Linked DNA regions of Homo sapiens: all the other regions are linked to region 3. Evidence: promoter capture Hi-C in human tissues and cell types (Jung and others, 2019). All regions are on one chromosome and are shown on one strand. The core of a region is centred on a gene start or on the middle of the fragment in contact, and the rest is flanking DNA. Distances in the headings are between cores, read along the strand shown. Region 1 has its middle 15 kb from the start of EPCIP. Region 2 overlaps PAXBP1 (PAX3 and PAX7 binding protein 1). Region 3 holds the start of GART (phosphoribosylglycinamide formyltransferase, phosphoribosylglycinamide synthetase, phosphoribosylaminoimidazole synthetase).

Region 1 (3,282 bases), core at 171-2,670, 710 kb after region 3:
GGAGAATATATTTAAAATACATGTATTCAACAAAGGACTCATTCAGATTATATAACGAACTCCTACAAAGCGATTTGTATTAAATGTCAGACAACCCAAAAGAAAAAAATGGGCAGAATTATGAGCAATTATGTCACCACACAAAGAAGATAGCCTTCAAATAGTTATCAAGAAAATGTCACCTAGGACCACAATTGTGTACACAAGAATGACTAAAGGGAAGAAGACACTATCAAGTGTGGGCAAGAGTGAGGAACAACGGGGACCCTCATATACTACTGGTCGGGGTGTAAAATGGCCCACCCACCTTAGAAAACTGTCAGGCGACATCTACTAAAGCAGAAACATATGTGTAGTCTGTGACCCAGCAATTTCAATCTTGGATGTATACTCAACAGAAATGTATATACATGTTCACCAAAACACATTTAGGAGAATGTTCATGGCTTCACTATTTATAATAGTAAAAGAACTGGATACAACCCACATGCCCATCTATAGTAGAATGGGACTAGGTACAGTGGCTCACGCCTATAATCCCAGCACTTTAGGAGGCCAAGGCAGAAGGATCGCTTGAGCCCAGGAGTTCAAGATTAGCCTGGGCAACATAGTGAGATCCCACTCTACAAAATAATTTTTTTTTAAAGATGAAAAATTAGCTGGGCATGTTGGCATATTCTTGTAGTCCCAGCTACTCAGGAGGTTGAGGTGGTAGGAACCCTTAAGCCCAGAAGTTGGAGGATACAGTGAACCATGATTGTGCCACTGCACTCTAGCCTGGGTGACAGACCAAGATCCTGTCTCAAACATTAAAAAAAATAAAATTAAAATAGTAGAATGGGTAAATAAATTGTGTAATATCCACACTTAGAATAATATTCAACAGTCAGTGAGAGCGAATCATCTGTAACTGTCTAAGACTACTCAGGCCCTATAACAAAACATCACCTATTGGATGACTTATAAAAACAGACATTTATTCCTCATGGTTCTAAAGGCTGGAAGTTCAAGATCAAGGTGCCAGCAGATTTGATGTCTGGTGAGGGGCACTTTCTGGTTCATAGATGGTGCCTTCTTGCTGTGTCCTCACATGATGGAAGAGAGAAAACGCTGGTCTCTCAGCTTCTTCTAAGGGCACTAAGTCCCATTCCTGAAGGCTCTACCCTTATGACGTAATCGCCTTCCAAAGGCCCTGCTTTCTAATACCATCGTCTCAAGAGTTAGAATTTCAACCTGTGAATTTTCAGACCAAAGCAAGAATATAAAGCACTCAAAAACAACCTCAGATATATATATAGAGAGAGAAAGAGAGACATTTTATATTTGCATATCAATAAATAGAACTGGGAAAATTAGTTTTTCATATAAAAAGTTATACCTAAATCATGCCATACTCAAAATTAATTATAGATAGATTTAAAACTCCAATGTGAAAAGGAAAGCTTTAAAACTTTGGGAAGAAAATATCAAAAATATCTTTATAAATTCAGAATAGTGAAGGACTCTGGGGCCAGGCTATCTGGGTTCCAGTCTCAGCTCTATGACTTACTAGCTGTGTGAGCTTGGACAGTTTCTCCCTACTCTTTACTTTCCACGTATGAAAAATAAGGAGAATAATGGCACCTTCTCACAGGGTCATTGAGAGGATTAAATGAATAATATGCATAAACTGTTTAAAATACTGACTGACACTTATTAAGTGCTATATGGGTTTTTGTTGTTTTATGAGTAGTACTGGTAGTTGTTATAAGGGACAGATACTTTCCAGTTGGAAGATATATGTTTTTAAAAGTTCAGAAAGTCTAGTAATTAAGGGAAGAAATGGATAATCAATATTGAAAGATAGCAAAAAAGAAAAATATAATAAAGAAAGGACAAATTAAGAATTTGTGAGCCCCTCATGTAAAAAACCAGACTAATGTAAATAAGCTGAATTACTCTATTAATCATTTAATCTGTGTATGTCTCCCCCACTGACCCCCAAGCTGTCCCTAACCAAGAATACCATGGGATTGTGTTCTTGTCTGCTTTCTTCCTGCTGTACTTCCACATTCTGAAATGCATTCCACAGGCAGGTGCATCTTGGGTTTCCAATAAAAATCAACCGACCAAGGGGGCGGAATCTCCAGGCTTGAACCCTCAAATACAGACAGGATTATGTGTTCTTTTTCTATTGGGAGGCATAGTTTTCTGGTAGGATACTGGCAAATCAGAAACAGCAAAACAGAGTCTTCTCAGGAGTTCAATAGACTTTGCAGCAAGACTCTTTTATATGCTCAAAATTTAAAATCATTCATGCACTTCTTCATTTTTAAAAAATAGTCTTTTAAGTTTATAGTATTTTCTTATGTTTTTCCAATATTGAAAAACTGCAATGTACAGTATTCTTATTCTCCTGCCAAAACAAATAGCATATTATTGCAGCTGTAACATTTTATGTCTTTGCCACAATAACTGTGGTTTTCCGCAGTAATTTTGCTATTATGCTATGATTTTTATTAGAAAATGTATTACTGCCATCTTAATTTTCTTAGCCAGTTTAACACATTTATGGCTTTTCTGCTTTGGCAAAGTGGTATTTCAAATACTGAAGAATAACTTTTTTAAATTCTATAAATCCTGGATGAAATTTAAACCATAAATTTCATTTCTGAATAATCAAATCAGAACATTACTGCAACTGTGTCATCGCCTAAAGCCAGTAATATTCCATGAGTTTGTAATAACATTATTTTGAGCAAGTCACACAAGGGGTAGTTTAGTGATCTGAAATGTCCAGGGTTTGCTATTTTTTCCCCAATAGTCCTTTTTTTTTTTTCTAAGATGGAGTCTCACTCTGTTTCCCAGGCTGAAGTGCAGTGGCATGATCTCAGCTCACTGCAAACTTCGCCTCCCGGGTTCAAGCTATTCTCCTGCCTCAGCCTCCCAAGTAGCTGGGATTACAGGCTCCTGCCACCACACGCAGCTAATTTATGTATTTTTAGTAGAAGACGGGTTTTCACCATGTTGACCAGGCTGGTCTTGAACTCCTGACCTCATGATCTGCCCTCCTCAGCCTCCCAAAGTGCTGGGAGGCGCAAAGTGCAGGCGTGAGCCACCATGCCCAGCCTCTTCCCCAATATTCTTGAAGAGATTTATAACAACACCGAATCTCAGATTTGATGGCTACCTGTTGAGAGAAATCAAGGAATGAGGAAGAATTTGAATGAGGAATGCAGGTGGCCTTTCTCGCCATCCTTTTGCCTAGTGGCCCCCTTTTTCACCAAGACAAGAGGCTGGTTT
Region 2 (3,595 bases), core at 162-2,661, 800 kb after region 3:
AAGAACTTGGTCCTTTGATCCTAGAGGAACTCAGAACCAGATGGGAAAGCACAATGAGGCAGGTGTGAAATGAGGACATGACCCAAGTCAGTTGTCATGGTGAGAAAAATTGATAGGCCAGGCATGGTGGCTCATGCTTGTAATCCCAACAGTTTGGGAGGCCAAGGCGGGAGGATTGTTTGAGCTCAGGAGTTCAAGACCAGCCTGGGCAACATAGCAAGACCTTGTCTCTACTTAAAAAAAAAAAAAAAAAATTAGCTGTGGTGGCATGTGCTCATATTCCTAGCTACTTCGGGGGCTGAGGCAGGATTGCTTGAGCCCGGGAGATCAAGGCTGTAATGAGCTATGATTGTGCCACTGCACTGCAGCCTGGGTGATAGAACAAGACCTGCCACAAGAAAAAAAAAAAAAGATAAGGAGGTGGAATCAAGAGGACCTATTGGCCTGTCATATAAGGGAGGGGGCTAGAATTGACTCTGGAGGTCTAGTGGTGATGTTTACAATGTGGTTTTAGAAGTTACCAACGTGGGTGAAGCTGTAGACATGGTTGAGATTGGCTAGGTTGAATTTGTGAACTATAAGGAAAAGGGAGCTGAGGTTGATGCCATGGAAACACAACTGAAAAAAATGTGAGCTCTGAGAAGCATTCAGCTCACAGCTCCTATTTCCTGTGTGCTCTTGGCCAGACCTTCTGAAGTTTTGCTGTGTGCATGAGTGTCTTGGTAGATAGCAAAGGCCCAAGACTGTATTTTGGAGTTATTTTTCTGTGTCCCCCACTCCTCTGCCCCACAGTTTCCAGCTGTGTCAGCCTTCCTGAGCTCCACCCTCTGTCTCCTCCACTCAGCAAAACTGCTCTGCTGTCCTGAACTAGCATCTCACCTCATTTGATTCCTTTCTTTAAAGGGTCATAGTCTTGTGCTGCCTATGGTCCATTGTATTTTGTCCAGTTCTTTTTTATTTTCTTTGGCTTTTAAGTTCCAGGGTACATGTGCAGATTTGTTACATAGGTAAACATGTGACATGGTGGTTTACAGCACAGATCAACCCATCACCTTGGTAGGAAGCCTAGCATCCAGTAGCTGTTGTTGCTCTCCCTCCCCCAAGTCCCCACCCCCACCCCCCAACAGGCCTCAGTGTGTGTTTTTCCCCAGTATGTGTCCATATATTCTCATTGTTCAGCTCCCACTTGCGAGAACATGTGGTGCTTGGGTTTCTGTTCCTGCGTTAGTTTGCTGAGGATAATGGCTTCTAGCTCCATCCATGTCCCTGCAAAGGACATGACCTCGTTCCTTTTTATGGCTGCATAGTATTCCATGGTGTATATGTATAACATTTTCTTTATCCAGTCTATAATTGATGGGCATTTGGGTTGATTCCATGTCTTTGCTATTGTGAATAGTGCTGCAGTGAACATACATATGCATGTAGCTTTATAATAGAATGATTTATATTTCTGTAGGTATATACCCAGTAATGGGATTGCTGGGTCAAATGGCATTTCTGCTTCTAGATCTGTGAGGAATTGGCACACTGTCTTCCTTACACTCCCACCAATAGTGTAAAAGTGTTCCTTTTTCTCTGAAACCTTACCAGCATCTTTTGTTTCTGGACTTTTAAATAATTCCCATTCTGATTGGCATGGGATGGTATCTCATTGTGGTTTAGATTTGCATTTCTCCAATCATCGGTGATGTTGAGCTTTTTTTCATGTTTGTTGGCTACATGAATGTCTTCTTTTGAGAAGTATCTGTTCATGTCCTTTGCCCACTTTTAATGGGGTTGTTTTTTTCCTATAAAGTTTCCTGTAGACTCTGGATATTAGACCTTTGTCAGATGGATAGATTGCAAGAATTTTCTCCCATTCTGTAGGTTGTCTGTTCACTCTGATAATAGTTTCTTTTGCTGCGTAGAAGCTCTTTAGTTGAATTAGATACCATTTGTCAATTTTTGCTTTTGTTGCAGTTGCTTTTGGTGTTTTTGTCGTGAAATCTTTGCCCATGCCGATGTCTTGAATGGTATTGCCTAGATTTTCTTCTAGGATTTTTATAGTTTTGGGGTTTACATTTAAGTCTTTAATCCATCTTGACTTAACTTTTGTATATGGTGTAAGGAAGGAGCCCAGTTTCAATTTTCTGTATATGGCTAGCCAATTCTCCCAACACCATTTATTAAACAGGGAATCTTTTCCCCATTGCTTGTTCGTGTCAGGTTTGTCGGAGATCAGATGGTTGTAGGTGTGCGGTCTTATTGCTGAGTTCTCTATTCTGTTCCATTGGTCTATGTGTCTGTTTTTGTATCAGTACCATGCTGTTTTGGTTACTGTGGCCTTATAGTTTGAAGTCTGGTAGCATGATATCTCCAGCCGTCCAGTTTTTAGTTGTTTGCAACCAAAGGTTAAATCCAGTTCTTGTTTCTCTTATCATAGCTGGAAGCAGAAATAGCCACTATTTTAGTATTTGGGTAACCTTTTAAATGTCTTTTAGGCAAAATGTCGTGACTTTGAGAATATGCTGTGGTTTGAATCTTTGCTGTTTTATGGTTGTGAAGAACGAGAGCAAGAAAAAGATGATGTAGATGTTGCCCTACTACCTACCATTGTGGAAAAGGTGATTCTTCCTAAACTAACAGGTAAATCTCCTGTTCTCTGAATTGAGCATTCAGACACACTGGCTTTCTCAAATCTATTTTTATGAGTTTATAATTCAGAGCATGTTTCCTTATAGAAATTACATGAGAAATAATAGTTACCACCTGGCCCAGAGATGGCTAGAGGGCAGAGGGGTTCTTATCCTGGGACTTGAAGACCACTTTAGGGTGGGCCTGTAGTTGAGTGCAGTAATTGCTTCATAGGTGAGGTTTAGAAATTCAAAGACTGACTGAAGCAAAATTATACAGAGTTTGAGGGAGGAGGATATGCATTTATGTGGGGAGCAATTAAAATGCTTTCATAAGTTCCTCAAAAAAGATTAGGAATCATTGATACAGGAATCTATTTTAAATACTAGAAATGTTAGTTTGAAATTCTTGATGCCAAGACAACATTTCTACAGAAATCCTCTTTTTTCCTAATCTTTATTTTCCCTGAGTACCAGAAATAAGAATAATCTATCCTCTCTCCACATCCCTATCCCTCCAAATTCCCACAGTTAATAGGACAAAGAAGACTAAAGCTTATATTGTAGAAAAAGAGGAAAAATAAATTAGGATTGGCATTAATAGAGGTCTGCTTGACAAAAAATTAAAGGTACAATTGGCTTCTGTGTCTCAATCCTCTTTTTTTCTTAATAGTGATAGCTGAAAATATGTGGGACCCTTTTTCTACAACACAGACTTCAAGAATGGTGGGAATTACACTAAAATTAATCAATGGATATCCTTCAGTAGTGAATGCAGAAAATAAAAATACACAGGTAATTTAGTATCTTTTGAAGCCTTTTTTTTTTTTCCTCTTTCTGTTGAATATGAGCAAGCATTGAGAGAATGAGTGGTTATCCTAAACCAATCAGAAATCTGGTTCTCCCACTTGGGCCATCAGGGCCATTAAAGCCTGAAATACACAAAATTTGAGATGTTAGGTTTTTTTTTTCTTTTTTTT
Region 3 (3,421 bases), core at 139-2,638:
GGAAGGAACTAGGCCCGTCCCTGGCGGACAACCGGGCCTACGAGTAGCTAAACGGCAGGGGGGACCCAAACAGGGGAGAAGGGTGAACATCTTAACTCGGTTCTGAAACAGGGAGTCTTGGGTTACCTCGGAAAAGGCGAAGTTCCTCGAGGGAAAAGGAAGGGAGCGGCTGGGGGGGCGGTTGGGGGGGGCCCGGAAAATGGATCCCAGGCCCAGGCGGGGCCCTAGCGGGGCCTGAGCCGGGGAACGACTGCGTCTCCGAAGAAAGGTGCCAAAGAAGGCTAGGTGAGGGCCTAACGGTCCGTTGGGAGCAGAAGAATCTGGGAGGCGTTTACCTGGAAAGCTCCTGTTGAATTTCCCGGAATTTACTGACCACGAAAGACCTAAAAATCTGCTCGATGTTGGTCGCCATGGCGTCCGCTCCGTTCTCTCAACTCCTCCTCGCTAGTCCTCCAGGCTCCCAGCATGCCTCGGGAGGAGGCGCACGGGCCAATTCGGTCTCTCGCCTTCCTGATTGGCTCCAAAGGGAATGCCCGGTCCGGCCCGCTCCACCGAGGGACCAATCAGTGAGCACGGCCCTGCTCTCCTCTGCTGTTTCTGAGCGGCTGGGGTAGAGGTGCTGACGTTTGCGCCGCGCACGACTATGTCCGCCATGTTAGTGTCTGACGCAGGCGCCATTACAGGAGCCGTCTCTCTTGAGGCGACCGTGTCCGCATAAGTTGTCAGTCCCCAGCAGTGTTTGGGAGCCTTAACAGGCTTGCTAAGTGCCTGAGATTAAAGGCGAAGAGGAAGAAGAGCAAGAAGGGCAACCCGGTGTTTAACACACGGCTTTCAGGCGCTCTCAGGTGGCGCCAAGTTCAGTTTCGACAGGGATATGCATCCGGGAGAGAATTTTTCAGCCCCCGCCCCCACTGGCATGTGAGAGGAGGAACTCGCTGTTGCCCTGTGTCTTCCCCAGTGCGTTCTATAACCAGCCTCATTTTTTTTTTTAGCAATAGGCCGGATGTCCTAAGCGACCGGCATTCAAAGCCCGGTGCATTTTAGTCTCATCAGGAGTCAGGCGTGTCACGAGATTTTTCCGCGGTAGCTGCTCAGCTCTGACTCGTGAGCGGCGCACAATTGGCTAAGAATGGGTTTAGCATTTTGGCGCTCCCCCCCGGCGCTCCTGGAAACACTGCGTGGCACCCCGTACCACTGTCACATTATAAACGTGCTAAGGCTTGGGTGTCTCGGCTGGGGAGCAGTCAGGCAGCGCCCAGGGCGGGAGGGAATCAGACTAGATTCTCGCCGCGGAGACCCAGGGCCGCGCGGACCAATGGGGCAGGGAAGCCGTCGTAGGGCGGGGCAGTGAGGGGCGGTGCCGCGCTGGTCCCGCGCCGGTCCCGGTGGGCCGACTTCCGGCGAGCGGGCAAGCGGGAACCAGGTGGCCACCCGGTGTCGGTGCGTAAACCCCCTCCGCTTTTACACGGAGCGCGCTTAGGCTTTGGTTTGGGGATTTAAGATCGCGAACTGAGTGAAACCATAGAAACTGATTTGTAGAAATTTTCCTGTTGTTTGTAAATGCGGTGGGTGGGGGTTGGCCATGTGCTTTTCACTTGCTACTGTTAGCTGGTTTCTATTTGCTCTTTTACTTTTCCTGTTTTCTAAGATGTCAAGGCCTTTTTGTGTCTTTATACATTTTTAGGACATAACCCTAAATTGGTGTACTTTCTCTTTATGCACCCGTTGTCTCTGGCAGATTACTTGGTTAATTTTGTAGTTGGTTTCTACTTTATTCTCCATATCCTCTGATACGGCTTTATTTGCCTGTCTTATTCTGCTTATGTTACCCATTCTGAGGAATGAGGCCCAAGGTTAGTGAAGTCCCCCAAGGTCTTCCTGCTAGTATGGGGCAGCGTCTCTACCCAGGCCAAGGCGCTGTGTGAGACTCAGGAGCCCAGGCGTCCTCACCACTGGGTAGTAAGGCTATTTTCAGTGATCCACTAGAGTAAACAGAATTTTCCCACACTACTGCTATATTCAAACTAAAGATGTAACATTTGCTCTAGATTTAAAGATCTGTTTATTTCTGGCCGGATGTGATGTAATCCCAGCACTTGGGAGGCCAAGGTGGGTTGACCATTGGAGGTCAGGAGTTCGAGACCAGCCTGGCCAACGTAGTGAAACCCCGTCGCTACTAAAAATACAAAAATTCGCCTGGCGTGGCGGCGCACGCCCGTAATCCCAGCTACTTGGGAGGCTGTGAGGCAAGAGAATCGCTTGAACCCGGGAGGCGGAGGTTGTAGTGAGCTGAGATCACACCACTGCCCTCCAGCCTGGGCGACAGAGAGAGACTGTCTAAACAAATAAATAAATAAATAAAATAAAAAATCTGTTTATTTCAGATACACATGGCAAGTAAAATGTGTTTTCCCGTTACACTAAAGTAGCTGTTCCTTCCGAGACTGTAATTTAACAGGGTTTTTTTTTTTCCTTTCTCAAATTTTCAATGATCATCGTTTCACTTGTTGAGAGAATCTGAAGCAAAATTGCTTCTGTTAGGCTCCACCCCCTCTTACCTGTGTGACCTCCAGCAAGTTATTTACCTATCTGGGCCTCCTTGTCTTATCTGCAAATTGGTGATAGTAATAGTATCTCCCTCATAGGATTCTTTCATGACAAGCATTTTAAATAGTACCCTGCCCAAGGTTAAGTGCTCAAAAAAATGTTAGTTTTGTATATTGTCAGCTTACATTTTTCTTAAAATATGTAATCCCAACATCATCAAAATAAGTTTTCAATTTTCTTTTTCCTGTTACCAGTTTGTCTTGTGGTAAGTAAATGTAACAAGTTAACATTTACTACTGCTGAGTGCCAGATTGTACTTATTTATAAATGTCATTTCAGTTAATCTCCTAGGTTACACTGCTGTTGTATCCATCCTTCTAAGTCTCAGGTGCCAGAACTAAAGTGAAATGAGTTGGAATTTGATTTTTGCCTTCTCTACCAATATTCTAGCATATTGCGCTATTTGAATTAGGAGTCAGCAAACTATGGCCCACATACCAAATCCTTCTGCTGCCTGCTTTTGTACAGCTCACCAAATATGAATGATTGAGAAAAAGAACAGGAAATAAATGAGGTTTTTGTGACATGTGAAAATTTTATGAAATTCAAATTATAGTATCCGTACATAAAGTTTTATTGAAAGCGAGTCACGTTTATTTGTTACAAACCTTTGATGGTTTCCTGCTACTTAAAGTACTGATAGGCAACAGTGATCTCTGACCCACTGCCTGTTTATGGGTCCATTAAATTTTTCTGGACATTGGCACATTGATTCATCTTCGTATTATCTTTGGTTGCTTTCCTGCTAAGGTGGCCGAGTCGAGTAGTTTTGACAGAACTATGTGGCCCTTTTTGTGTAAAGTTTGCTTACCCC

Evidence for each region. The method cuts DNA at HindIII sites, captures the fragments that hold promoters and counts their contacts. A contact is called where the count stands out against the background at its distance.
Region 1: a fragment that was not itself captured here is called in contact with the fragment with the promoter of GART in region 3 in 1 of the 25 tissues and cell types used here (dorsolateral prefrontal cortex).
Region 2: a contact is called between a fragment that was not itself captured here and the fragment with the promoter of GART in region 3, in 2 of the 25 tissues and cell types used here (dorsolateral prefrontal cortex and spleen).

The regions. Positions count from the first base shown.
Region 1 is chr21:32,826,992-32,830,273 of GRCh38, reverse strand. No RefSeq gene overlaps it. Among named protein-coding and RNA genes, the nearest start is that of EPCIP, 15 kb to the right of the region's middle. The HindIII fragment of the contact is 3,476 bases long and covers 1-3,158 here.
Region 2 is chr21:32,744,607-32,748,201 of GRCh38, reverse strand. It overlaps PAXBP1 (PAX3 and PAX7 binding protein 1), which reads left to right. Exons shown (of 18, transcript NM_016631.4): 12 at 2,484-2,628; 13 at 3,289-3,410. Among named protein-coding and RNA genes, the nearest start is that of PAXBP1-AS1, 18 kb to the right of the region's middle. The HindIII fragment of the contact is 5,225 bases long and covers 1-3,595 here.
Region 3 is chr21:33,540,084-33,543,504 of GRCh38, reverse strand. GART (phosphoribosylglycinamide formyltransferase, phosphoribosylglycinamide synthetase, phosphoribosylaminoimidazole synthetase) reads left to right here and starts at 1,388. Exons shown (of 22, transcript NM_000819.5): 1 at 1,388-1,440. SON (SON DNA and RNA binding protein) reads right to left here and starts at 467. Exons shown (of 12, transcript NM_138927.4): 1 at 336-467. The coding sequence starts at 412. RefSeq lists silencers at 93-182, 1,223-1,512 and enhancers at 363-422, 327-1,058, 623-1,072. The HindIII fragment of the contact is 11,246 bases long and covers 1-3,421 here.